2 separate regions of the Homo sapiens genome follow, and region 2 is linked to region 1. Evidence: promoter capture Hi-C in 16 types of primary human blood cells and fetal thymus (Javierre and others, 2016). All regions are on one chromosome and are shown on one strand. Each heading gives the region's core, a stretch centred on a gene start or on the middle of the fragment in contact. The rest is flanking DNA. Distances are from core to core; before and after follow the strand shown. Region 1 holds the start of CEP250 (centrosomal protein 250). Region 2 holds the start of NCOA6 (nuclear receptor coactivator 6).

Evidence for each region. The method cuts DNA at HindIII sites, captures the fragments that hold promoters and counts their contacts. A CHiCAGO score of 5 or more calls a contact.
Region 2: a contact is called between a fragment that was not itself captured here and the fragment with the promoter of CEP250 in region 1, in 4 of 17 cell types (fetal thymus, endothelial precursors, total CD8 T cells and 1 more). The highest score is 8.4, in fetal thymus.

What each region holds. Positions count from the first base shown.
Region 1 is chr20:35,453,524-35,458,962 of GRCh38, reverse strand. CEP250 (centrosomal protein 250) reads right to left here and starts at 3,365. Exons shown (of 35, transcript NM_007186.6): 1 at 3,212-3,365; 2 at 589-659. It overlaps MIR1289-1 (microRNA 1289-1), which reads left to right and starts at 4,866; the gene lies at 4,866-5,009. It also overlaps a transcript of GDF5 not described here. RefSeq lists a silencer at 3,571-3,950 and enhancers at 3,971-4,120, 4,381-4,430. The HindIII fragment of the contact is 4,927 bases long and covers 1-4,301 here.
Region 2 is chr20:34,825,019-34,830,457 of GRCh38, reverse strand. It overlaps NCOA6 (nuclear receptor coactivator 6), which reads left to right and starts at 4,807. Exons shown (of 15, transcript NM_014071.5): 1 at 4,807-4,986. RefSeq lists silencers at 4,701-4,890, 4,901-5,340. The HindIII fragment of the contact is 3,463 bases long and covers 918-4,380 here.

The DNA of each region.
Region 1 (5,439 bases), core at 2,116-4,615:
TGCATTATAGCAAATATACCATACTAAAAGGGGAGACTGGGTGCAAGGTATACAGGAACTCTCTGTACTATGCAATTTTTCTGTAACCCTAAAATTGTTGTAAAAAATAGTTTTAAAAAATGATTTAAAGTTTTTTAAAACCAAAACAATCCTCATAAAACTAAAATTTATTAAAACAAGAATAAAAGAGAAGAGACAGAGAAAAATTATCTCAGGAATCTTTCTGAAATTCAGATTTCATTCTGAGCTTCCTCAAGACACAGTTCAGCATCCTTTTACAAACACACTGCCAGATCAGATCTGCTAGGAATAAACTAGCAGAGCCCCCAAAGGGAAAGTAAATTTCAATGTGCCTGAGAAAGGGAAAAGAGCAGTAGCTGGCAAACTAACAAATTGGATTACATCTAAATAAGATAATGAGTGTCAGTGTACTTCTAAGCTGTAAACCACTGAGCCAATGTTATCATTACTGCAGGAAAAAGGGAAAGATTCATTTCTTTTGTACATTAATTTATCCCATAAACACTCATGAATTTCAACTCAGTATCAGGAGTCTGCCACAGTGGTACAGAAATGAACAAGACCTACCTTCCTACTTTTGCTAAGGATCAGACAGGGAAGACAGCACCCTTACTAAAGACCAACAGCCACCTGTGAACCTGGAGTGGAAAGTGACAGAAGAGTGAGATAAATTATGTATTTGATCCTCTCTCATCCAAAATACTACAAAAGGAGTATTTAAATAAAGTTTAAAAGAGAAGCAACACTACCACCTAAACTTGGAATAGAGGCATAAATGCTACAAGGACTAAGATGCAGAATGGTATTAAATAGAATTTGTCACTTAAAGCAAAAACAGAAAAATACTTGAGGACACAAACATTTTATTTACTGAGAAAGAAACTACAGTATAGACATTTGTGTACAGACATAATTTGTTTCTTACTCCTGAAAAAAACAAATTAGCATGCAGCTCCTTATTTAAATCTCATGTGGGGCCTCTCTGTTGCTCTCTTCCAACCTCTGGCCTCTCCCACTCAGTCTCCTTTGCTGCCTTTTCTCATCTCCCCAGTATCTAAAGTTTGGAAACCTCAAGGCTTCAGACCTCTTCTCCATCTCCATTAATTTCCAAGGTAATCTCATCCAGTGTTTTGTTTTGTTTTTGAGACAGGATCTGGCTCTGTTACCCAGGCTGTAGTGCACTGGCATGATCTCAGCTCACTGCAACCTCTGCCTCCCCGGTTCAGGCAATTCTCATGTCTCAGCCTCCTGAGTAGCTGGGATTACAAGCATGTGCCACCACGACCAGCTAATTTTTTTGTATTTTTAGTAGAGACAGAGTTTCACCAAGGTGGGAGGATCTCTTGAGGCCAGGAGTTCAAGACCAGCCTGGGCAACACAGGGAGATTCCCATCTCTATTAAAAAAAAAAAAATTGCTGGCTGTGTGGCATTCACCTGTAGTCCCAGCTACTTGGGAAGTTAAGGTGGGAGGGCTGCTTGAGCCAAGGAGTTCGAGGCTGCAGTGAGCTGTGATCACGCCACTGCACTCCAGCCTGGGACAAGATGCTCAAATAAATAAATAAATAAAATACTATCACCTCTCCACATAACACTAGTACTTTTATTTACCTTACCATGCTTTTTCTGTCCCTATCTAATTATTATGTAATATACTTACCAAAATGCAAATTCCACAAGTGCAAAAGCATTGTTTTATCGAATGCTGTATTCCCAGCTCCTACCTAAAACACAGCCTGGTTTATAACAAGTGCCCATTATTACTGACTATTATAGGACATTAGGTAACATGATCCATATTATCACCAATGGTCTTGCAAAATGCTAACAGCTCTATTACCTATATAAAAAGCAAAAAAACAGGCTGGGTGTGGTGGCTCACAACTGTAATCCCAGCACTTTGGGAGGCTGAGTTGGGCAGATCATTTGAGGCCAGGAGTTCGAGACCAGCTTGGCCAACATGGCAAAACCCCATCTCTCCTAGAAATACAAAAATTAGCCAGGCACGGTGGCGGGCGCCTGTAATCCCAGCTACTCAGGAGGCTGAGGCGGGAGAATCGCCTGAACCTGGGAGACAGGATGTTCCAGTGAACCCAGATCGCACCACTGCACTCCAGCCTGGGTGACTGAGACCAGGTCTCAAAAAAAAAAAAAAAAGTGGGGGGAGGCATATAACTTATAGCTTGGTCAGTGGCAGAGCAATGACTGAACCCCAATCTGATTCCAAATTCTACACTCTCTCCATTACATTAGCTGTTAAAGCATGAACATTACATTAGTTAAAGCATGGACTACGAACTCACAGCTCTGTGAGGGGCACTTCTTAAATAGTGAGCGATAATGACACCTATGTCTGCAGCTTTCTGATCGAAAAGGAGCAAAGAAAGATAGAAGAACTAAAGGAACAGAGGGCGTACCAGTAGCCTTGGTTTTGTTGTGACCTCTATAAATCTGGGACCAGTTCTCCTTTCTAAGCCTTCGCGGTAAAATACTGATCACAAGCCTAGCCTCCAATAACTCCCAGGGCCAAAGTAAAGATCAATTCAACAGACGTTGATTAAACCCAAAGGCAATCTAGTCAAGTCATCAAATGCCCTGGGGACAGTTTCCCAGCTCCATCCACTTATTAGTTGTGGGACTCCTGGCAAATTACTTTTTCTATGAATACCTCAGTTTCTTCATGGGTAAAACGTGAAGCTATAGAAAGAACTCACCCCATAGGATTGTTGGGAAGATTAAATAGGCCTTTGGCTGAGCGCGGTGGCTCACGCCTGTAATCCCAGCACTTTGGGAGGCCGAAGCGGGCGGATCACCTGAGGTCGGGAGTTCGAGATCAGCCTGACCAACATGGAGAAACCCCGTCTCTACTAAAAACATAAAATTAGCCGGGTGTGGTGGCGCATGCCTGCAATCCCAGCTACTTGGGAGGCTGAGGCAGGAGAATCGCTTGAACCCGGGAGGCGGAGGTTGAGGTGAGCCGAGATCGCGCCATTGCACTCCAGCCTGGGCAACAAGCGCGAAACTCCGTCTCTAAATAAATAAATAAATGGGCCCTTATGTGTAATGCATTCAGTAGCACCTGACAATTTGTGATCATTCCGTACAGTAAGCCATGACTATTATCATCACGTGCTAGGCCCTGGGATCTAGAGATGAAAAAGGCAAGGCATAACATCTAACGAACGAGCTTACGGTGTCAACGAGGGGCCGGGAAAGTAACTCGGTGCACAGCGAGTGCAAAAACCGAGAAGCGAATGCAGCTGCGCCTGGAGAAGGCGGCTGAGAAGCGATACTTCAGCAGGGTCCTGAAGAATGGGAGCTCCAGAGTCGGGTGGCGGGTGGGACTGGGCTTTCGGATAGATTACGTGCAAATCCGCCAGGACACAGGGAGCGAGGGGCGGGGGGGCGGCAGAGCGCGGCGCCTCACCCTCCCAGCCTGGGATTGCGGCTACTGGACACGAGGGTCGGGAAGCTCTCCTTCGGCGCCGACTGGAGCTTAGCGTGCTGGCGGCAGCAAGAAGCTGAGGCAAGCGGGCCCCGGGCCCTAACGACGCGTCCCAGCCCCTCTCTGGGCCTCGGGTTCCTCCCGGGTAACAAGAGGCCGCTGCCCGAACGGGATTCCCTCAGGCGCCCTAGACGGGCGGGTCTCCGGGCCTCGGACGGTTAACCCGAGCACCTCCCACCTGCCCCTGAGGCCCCACCTCACCACGCTCGGCTCCCGCAGACGCCCGGCTAGTTGCTCCGCGATTGAGCTGCGGCAGCCGCTGCTAAGGCCCTGCGGGGGACGGGGGCGGAGCCCACCCCGAGGCAGAGGGCCAGGCCCCGCCCCCCCAAACTCCCGCCCTTTGGGAGGGGCCCGCCCCTCCAAGTCCTGCACCTATAGGCAGACTGAGCCGGCGCAGGGCCTCCCGCCATGTTGGGTATTGGCAGCCGACTTACTAGAGAGGCCCTGAAGGAAAGGGGGTATTATTTTAAGAATTATAAGATCCCTAGCCAGAAATGGGGACGGTCAGGGTCTCTGGATTCGCGAAAGGGACATTTCGGAAGCAGAAAAGAAAAATTGCCCTCAATCATTTCGCTTTTGGCTTCAGTGTTACATACAGCGCATGTGCAAGGTCACCTGGTTCTAGGTGCGCCTGCGCACAGCTCCACCTACAAACCAGACTACAATTACAACTGCCGAGAAACAAAGGGGCTCGCTGCCACTGGTTAGCGATAATACTGGCAGCGCGACCGGTTTCTGAGGGTTGTTCACCTTGCTGCTCAGACGCTCCGAGAAGCTTCAGGCAGCATAACACTTACAGGCGAGTTACTTACTCAACACTCGGTTTTGTCTGCATGTCTCTGCACAGAGTGTTACCTTTACCTGACTTAATCCGTCCCGGAGCTGCAGTTCTGCTTAAGCCTGACTTCTAGAGAACTTTTTCTTCCCAATAGGACCCATGCGTTATTCCTGTAGCATTTTGTGTATAAATTTTTTTTTTTTTTTTTGAAATGGAGTCTTGCTCTGTCGCCAGGCTGGAGTGCATTGGCACGATCTCGGCTCACTGCAACCTCTGCCTCCCAGGTTCAAGTAATTCTCCTGCCTCAGCCTCCCGAGTAGCTGGGACTACAGGCGCCCGCCACCACGCCCGGCTAATTTTTGTATTTTTAGTAGAGACAGGATTTCACCATGTTGGCCAGGATGGTCTCGATCTCTCTTGACCTCGTGATCCTCCCGCCTCGGCCTCCCAAAGGGCTGGGATTACAGGCGTGAGCCACCGCGCCCGGCCTTGTGTATAAATTGTTAATGCACTTTCTTAGAGTTGTAAACTCCATTTACCTGCCTCACTCTTGCACTCAGTGGTTCTCAATTTTTAGTAGGAATTAAAAACAAAACTGGTAAATGCAGACTCTTGGTTTCCACCCCCAGAGAATCCCTAAACCGGGGGTGGAGTCCAGGAATCTGCATTTTAGAAAGTACCCAGGGTGATTCTGATAATTGGGAACACGTTTTAGGAAGCGCTGCATGAGATTGTGAGCTTGAGCGTAGAGACTGTAATTTGGTCATCTGACTATAGCGCTCAGCACAAGGCCTGGTACAAAATAGGTGCTCAATAAGTGCTGAGTGAATGGGTGAATGAGTGGATAGCTCGAGTGAAACAGCAAGGCTTCAGGTTAATCCACAGCCAAAGGTAACCTGAGAAAGGAACGCTTAAAAGCTATATTTTATCTTTCTCCTGTAAGAACACAAAAAAGATCTTAATAGCTAATTTGAGAAATAGAGAAAGTGGAGAGTAAAAGGGGAAGGAAGGACACGGATTCTGAAAGGCAAACTATCTAGAGAGGGGAAAAGGAACATCTCCAGGCACTAGACAGAGAAAACGATGCAAAGAAGCAGTGGTGTGGGATTCCATCCTAGGGAAATAATCCCACAACAG
Region 2 (5,439 bases), core at 1,400-3,899, 630 kb after region 1:
CTGGTCTCAAACTCCTGGACTCAAGCAATCCTCCTGCCTTGGCCTCCCAAAGTGCTGGAATTACAGGCATGAGCCATAGCACCCAGTCTTATTGCTGAGTTTCTGGAATCTTTGAGAGCTTTCTTATCTCTAGAAGTCTTTGTGGGTTTGGAAATATGTCAGTGAGGTCTTCTCAGCCTCTGGGCTGGCTGTTGTCAGGACCTCTGTGTCTGTAGGATGAAGTAGCCAGAGCTTTTCATTCAGTCTTTCAGGTTAATTAATCAAGTCATTCATTAATTGTATCTTTATCCAAAAAATCACCCTTTGGCTATGTCAGATTTCCAGGCTAACACAAGAGTACAAACTGTATGGTTCTGTTTCTATGGAGATCAAAAACTGTCAAAGTTAATCTACGGCTGGGCGTGGTGGCTCATGCCTGTAATCCCAGCACTTTGGGAAGCCAAGGCGGGCAGATCACAAGGTCAGGAGATCGAGACCACGGTGAAACCCCGTCTCTACTAAAAATACAAAAAATTAGCCTGGCGTGGTGGTGGGTGCCTGTAGTCCCAGCTACTCAGGAGGTTGAGGCAGGAGAATGGCGTGAACCCGGGAGGCAGAGCTTGCAGTGAGCCGAGATTGTGCCACTGCACTCCAGCCTGGGCGACAGAGCGCGACTCCATCTCAAAAAAAAAAAAAAAGTTAATCTATGGTGCTAGAAGTCAGAATAATGGTTACATCTGGGGGAGCAGGTATTTATTAGAAGAGAACATACAAAAGAGAACAAAAGGGAACTTTCTGGGTTGATAGATCTATAACTTGATCTAGGTGGTGGTAACACAGGAATGTAGGCAAAAAAATTATTAGATATACACTTAATAGTTTTTCATTTTATTGTATATAAATTATATTTCAGTTTTTAAAAGTTAAAATAAAAAGCTTCAGAAAAGTTTTTTTTTCCAGGATATTTTAAATTTATTTGGTGTTAATTTCATAGGCTCAAAGGTCTAAGGTGCCCCCCTGTTGCGGTTGCCTGTGGTTCTCTTTGCTCCTGTCTGCCCTCTTGGGCCCAATACCTAGTATTGTGCTTAGGATTCACAAACGCAACAAATACTTACTGAGCACCTACTCTGTGCCAGGTGCTGTGCTATATGCTGAGAAAACAATGTTAAACAAGATGGATAAGGTTTTCTTCCTTATGGTGTCCATAGTCTAGTGGCAAAGACAGGTAATAATGACTCAGTGTATTCTACTAAGGACAAGCATATCGTGCTAAGAAAACCTGTGTGGGAATGGGTCAGGGAAGGTATCCTTGGAGTAGCCCCGTTTGAACTGGGATCTGAAGACTGAGAGTTATCTAAGTGGGGAGAGCATTGCAGGCAGGGGGATCAGCATGTGCAAGGGTTCTCAGAAAGGAGGGAGAACAATGTGTAAGAAATATCACTGTAGTTGCAACCCAGAGAAAGGGGAAGAGGGCCCTAAGATAAATCTAGAGATGTGGGGAGGCCAACATTTATTTGGTCTTTATCTTTTTTTTAGAGACGGAGTCGCGCTCTGTCGCCCAGCCTGGAGTGCAGTGGCGCGATCTCGGCTCACTGCAAGCTCCGCCTCCTGGGTTCACACCATTCTCCTGCCTCAGCCTCCCGAGTAGCTGGGACTACAGGCGCCTGCCACCACGCCCGGCTAATTTTTTGTATTTTCAGTAGAGACGGGGTTTCACCGTGTTAGCCAGGATGGTCCGATCTCCTGATCTTGTGATCTGCCCGCCTCGGCCTCCCAAAGTGCTGGGATTACAGGCGTGAGCCACCGCGCCCGGCTTGGCCTTTATCTTAAGAGCAATGTAGAGCCATCAGATTTTTTTTTTTTTTTGAGACAGGGTCTCACTCTATTGCCCAGGCTGGAGTGCAATGATATGATCTTAGCTTACTGCAGCCTCAACCTCCCAGGCTCAGGCAATCCTCCCACCTCAACCTCCAAAGTGGCTGGGGCCACAGGTGTGCAGCACCATGCCTGCTATGTTTTTGTCTTTTGTTGTCTTTTTGAGACACGGTTTCCCTTTGCCACCCAGGCAGGAGGGCAGTGGTGTTATCTCGGCTCACTGAAGCCTCCACCTTCCAGCTCAAGTGATTCTTGCCTCATGCCTCAGCCTCCCGATTAGCTGGGACTACAGGTGTGCACCACCATGCCCAGCTAATTTTTGTATTTTCAGTAGAGATGGGGTTTTGCCATGTTGCCCAGACTAGTCTCGAACTTCTGAGCTGACGTGATCCACCCACCTCGACCTCCCAAAGTGCTGGAATTATAGGCATGAGCCACTGAGCCCAGCCATTTTTGTATTTTTTGTTGAGACAGCGTTTGCCATGTTGCTCAGCCCGGTCTTGAACTCCTGGGCTCAAACAATCCACCTGCCTCAGCCTCCCAAAGTGTTGGGATTACAGGTGTGAGCCACTGCACCTGGCCATCAACAGATACTTTTAAGTAGAGTAGTGACATGATCATATTTCTGATCATTAGAAACATTACTCTGACAGCAGGGTGGAGAATAGATTAGAGGGCGGTCAGGGTAATGTGAAAAGATGGTGGGTATCTACTACACCAGTCCAAGCACACTGTGTGTACTCAATAAATATTGATGGAATGAAAGGGTTCCTGACTCCCTTTCTTCTATGGGATCAGTAGGACTGATTTGTTTAATTAGTTTACAATCCACCTGCTCATCCTCTATCTCCTGGGATGCTCAGAACAGACCCCAACTCCCATTTTACAGATGAAGATGCTCAAGTTCAGAGAGGCAAGGACAGCTATCAAGAGCGAAAGCCAAAGAGAGCTGCCATACAATCCAGCAATCCCATTCTTAGGTATACACCGGAAAGAAAGGAAATCAGTGTATGGAAGAGATCTGCACTCTCATGTTTACTGCATCCCTGTTCACAACAGCCAAGATTTGGAAGCAACCTAAGTGTCCATCAACAGATGAATGGATAAATAAAATGTACATATACACAATGGAATACTATTCCGCCATTAAAAAAGAGTGAGATCGTGTCATTTGCAACAATATGGATGGAACTGGAGGTCATTATGTTATGTGAAAGAAGCCGGGCACAGAAAGACAAACTTCACATGTTCTCACTTATTTGTGGGAGCAAAAAATTAACTATTTTTTATTTTTTTTTGAGACGGAGTCTCACTCAGCCACCTAGGCTGGAGTGCAGTGGCGCGAGCTAGGCTCACCGCAACCACCATCTCCCAGGTTCAAGAGATTCTCCCGTCTCAGCCTCCTGAGTAGCTGGGATTACAGGCACCCGCCATCATGCCCACCTAGCTTTTGTATTTTAGTAGAGACAGGGTTTCACCATGTTGGCCAGGCTGGTCTTGAACTCCTGACCTCAGGTGATCCGCCCATCTTGGCCTCCCAAAGTGCTAGGATTACAGGCGTGAGCCACCATGCCGGGCCAGGAGCGAAAAATTAAAACAATTGAACTCATGGAGATAGAGAATAGAAGGAGGGTTACCAGAGGCTGGTAAGATTAATGGGGAGGTAGGTGGGAAGTGGGAATGATTAACGGGTACAAAAGAATAGTTAGAAAGAATAAGACCTAGTATTTGCTAGCACAAGAAGGTGACTACAGTAAAAAACAATTGGCCGGGCGCGGTGGCTCACGCCTATAATCCCAGCACTTTGAGGGGCAGAGGCGGGCGGATCATGAGGTCAGGAGTTCCTGACCAGCCCGGCCAATATGGTGAAACCCCATCTCTACTTAAAAAATATACAAAAATTAGCTGGGCGTGGTGGCATGCGCCTGTAGTACCAGCTACTCAGGAGGCTGAGGCAGGCGAATCCCTTGAACCAGGGAGGCGGAAGTTGCAGTGAGCTGAGATCGCGCCACTGCACTCCAGCCTGGGCGACGGAGTGAGACTCCGTCTCAAAAAAACAAAAATAAAACAAAAAACAAAAAAAAAACCACACACACACAAAATTTACTTGTACATTTTAAAATAACTAGAGTATAATTGGGTTATTTGTAACACAAAGGATAAATGCTTGAGTTGCTAGATACCCCATTTACCATGATGTGATTACACATCGCATGCCTGTATCAAAATCTCATGTACCCCATAAATATATTCACCTACTACGTACTTACGAAAATTTAAAAAATACATCAGTGTAGTGTGGGAAAAAACAGAAAATTTTTAAAAAAGAGTGAAAGCCAGATATGAATCCAGGCCTGTATGACAGACATGAAGTCCAGTGCTGAGGAGGCCTTTCTACGTTTGGGAAGAGGGGAGGGGCCACACTCGTTCGATCAATAATTCTATTTACTGAGCATTTTAGCTTGCTAGGGAGGTAATGATGGGAAAAAGAAGAGAGGGATTTAGAGGCAAATAATAATGAAAGCTTTTATCTATATCCCATTAAGCTTATTATTAGACAGTATGTGTCAGGCACGGTGACAAGTGCTTTCCAAGCCCACCTCCATTTGCTCTTCACAAGCACTATGATTTTCCCCATATTTCAGATGGGTAAACTGAGGCTTGGAGTTGCCATGTCCAAGGATACTCAGAGCGCTCGCAAAAGACTGTGCAATGTGTGCTTCCGAAGTGGGACTCACTGGCGAGAGAATAGCCCTGGAAAGCCGACAGAGACCCACGAGATCCCAGCACTAAGCACTCAGCACCGAAGGGAGCTGGCGCGCGCTCCACCTCGCGCTCCCGGGGACGTCTGGTCACGTGGGCAATGCCCCGCCCCTCGAGTCCGCCCCGCCCCCTCTCGCGCTCCCTCCCTCTCTCCCTCCCTCCCCCTCCCTCCCCGGCCCGGTCCGGCCCATCCCCCTCCCCGCCGGCTCCGTGAGGCCCTGCCGGGTCGGGCTGCGGGCGGCCGGGCGCGGGCGGCGGGACAGACGGGCGCACGCGAGGACTGACGGACGGACGCACCGAGGGCGGCGGGCACGCACGGCCCGGGCCGGCGCTCCAAGGCCCGCCCGGGAGGGCCGGGGCCGCGCTCAGGTGAGGGGACGGCGGCGCGGGCCCGTAAGGGGTGGGCCCGCCGGGCGTCCGCGGTCCTTGTCGGGCTGGCTTCGCGGGGAGGAGGCGCCGCCCGGGCCCGCGCGGAAAAATGGCGCCGGGCGACCGAGTGGCACGGTCTGAGAGCGGGCCCGGCCCGGAGCCGCCCCGCCCGCCGCGCTTGTGTCCCCGTCGCCATGTTGGGGAGCGGGCCCCAGGCCTGCGGGCGGGGGCGCTGGAGGGAGCGGCGGCCGGGCTGGGTGGGGAGGGTGCTGGGCGCGGGGGCCGGTGCACTGAGGGAGTGCAGGGCTGGCCGGGGTCTGCACGGGGTGGCGCTCCAGGCCTGGGGAACAGGCGGGAGCCGGTCGTGGGGTCGTGGTCAGGGTCGCGGAGAAGGAACACTGGGTCCGAAGGGAACCGGGATTGGGGTCTATGGGCTGAGAGGATGGCAGGACG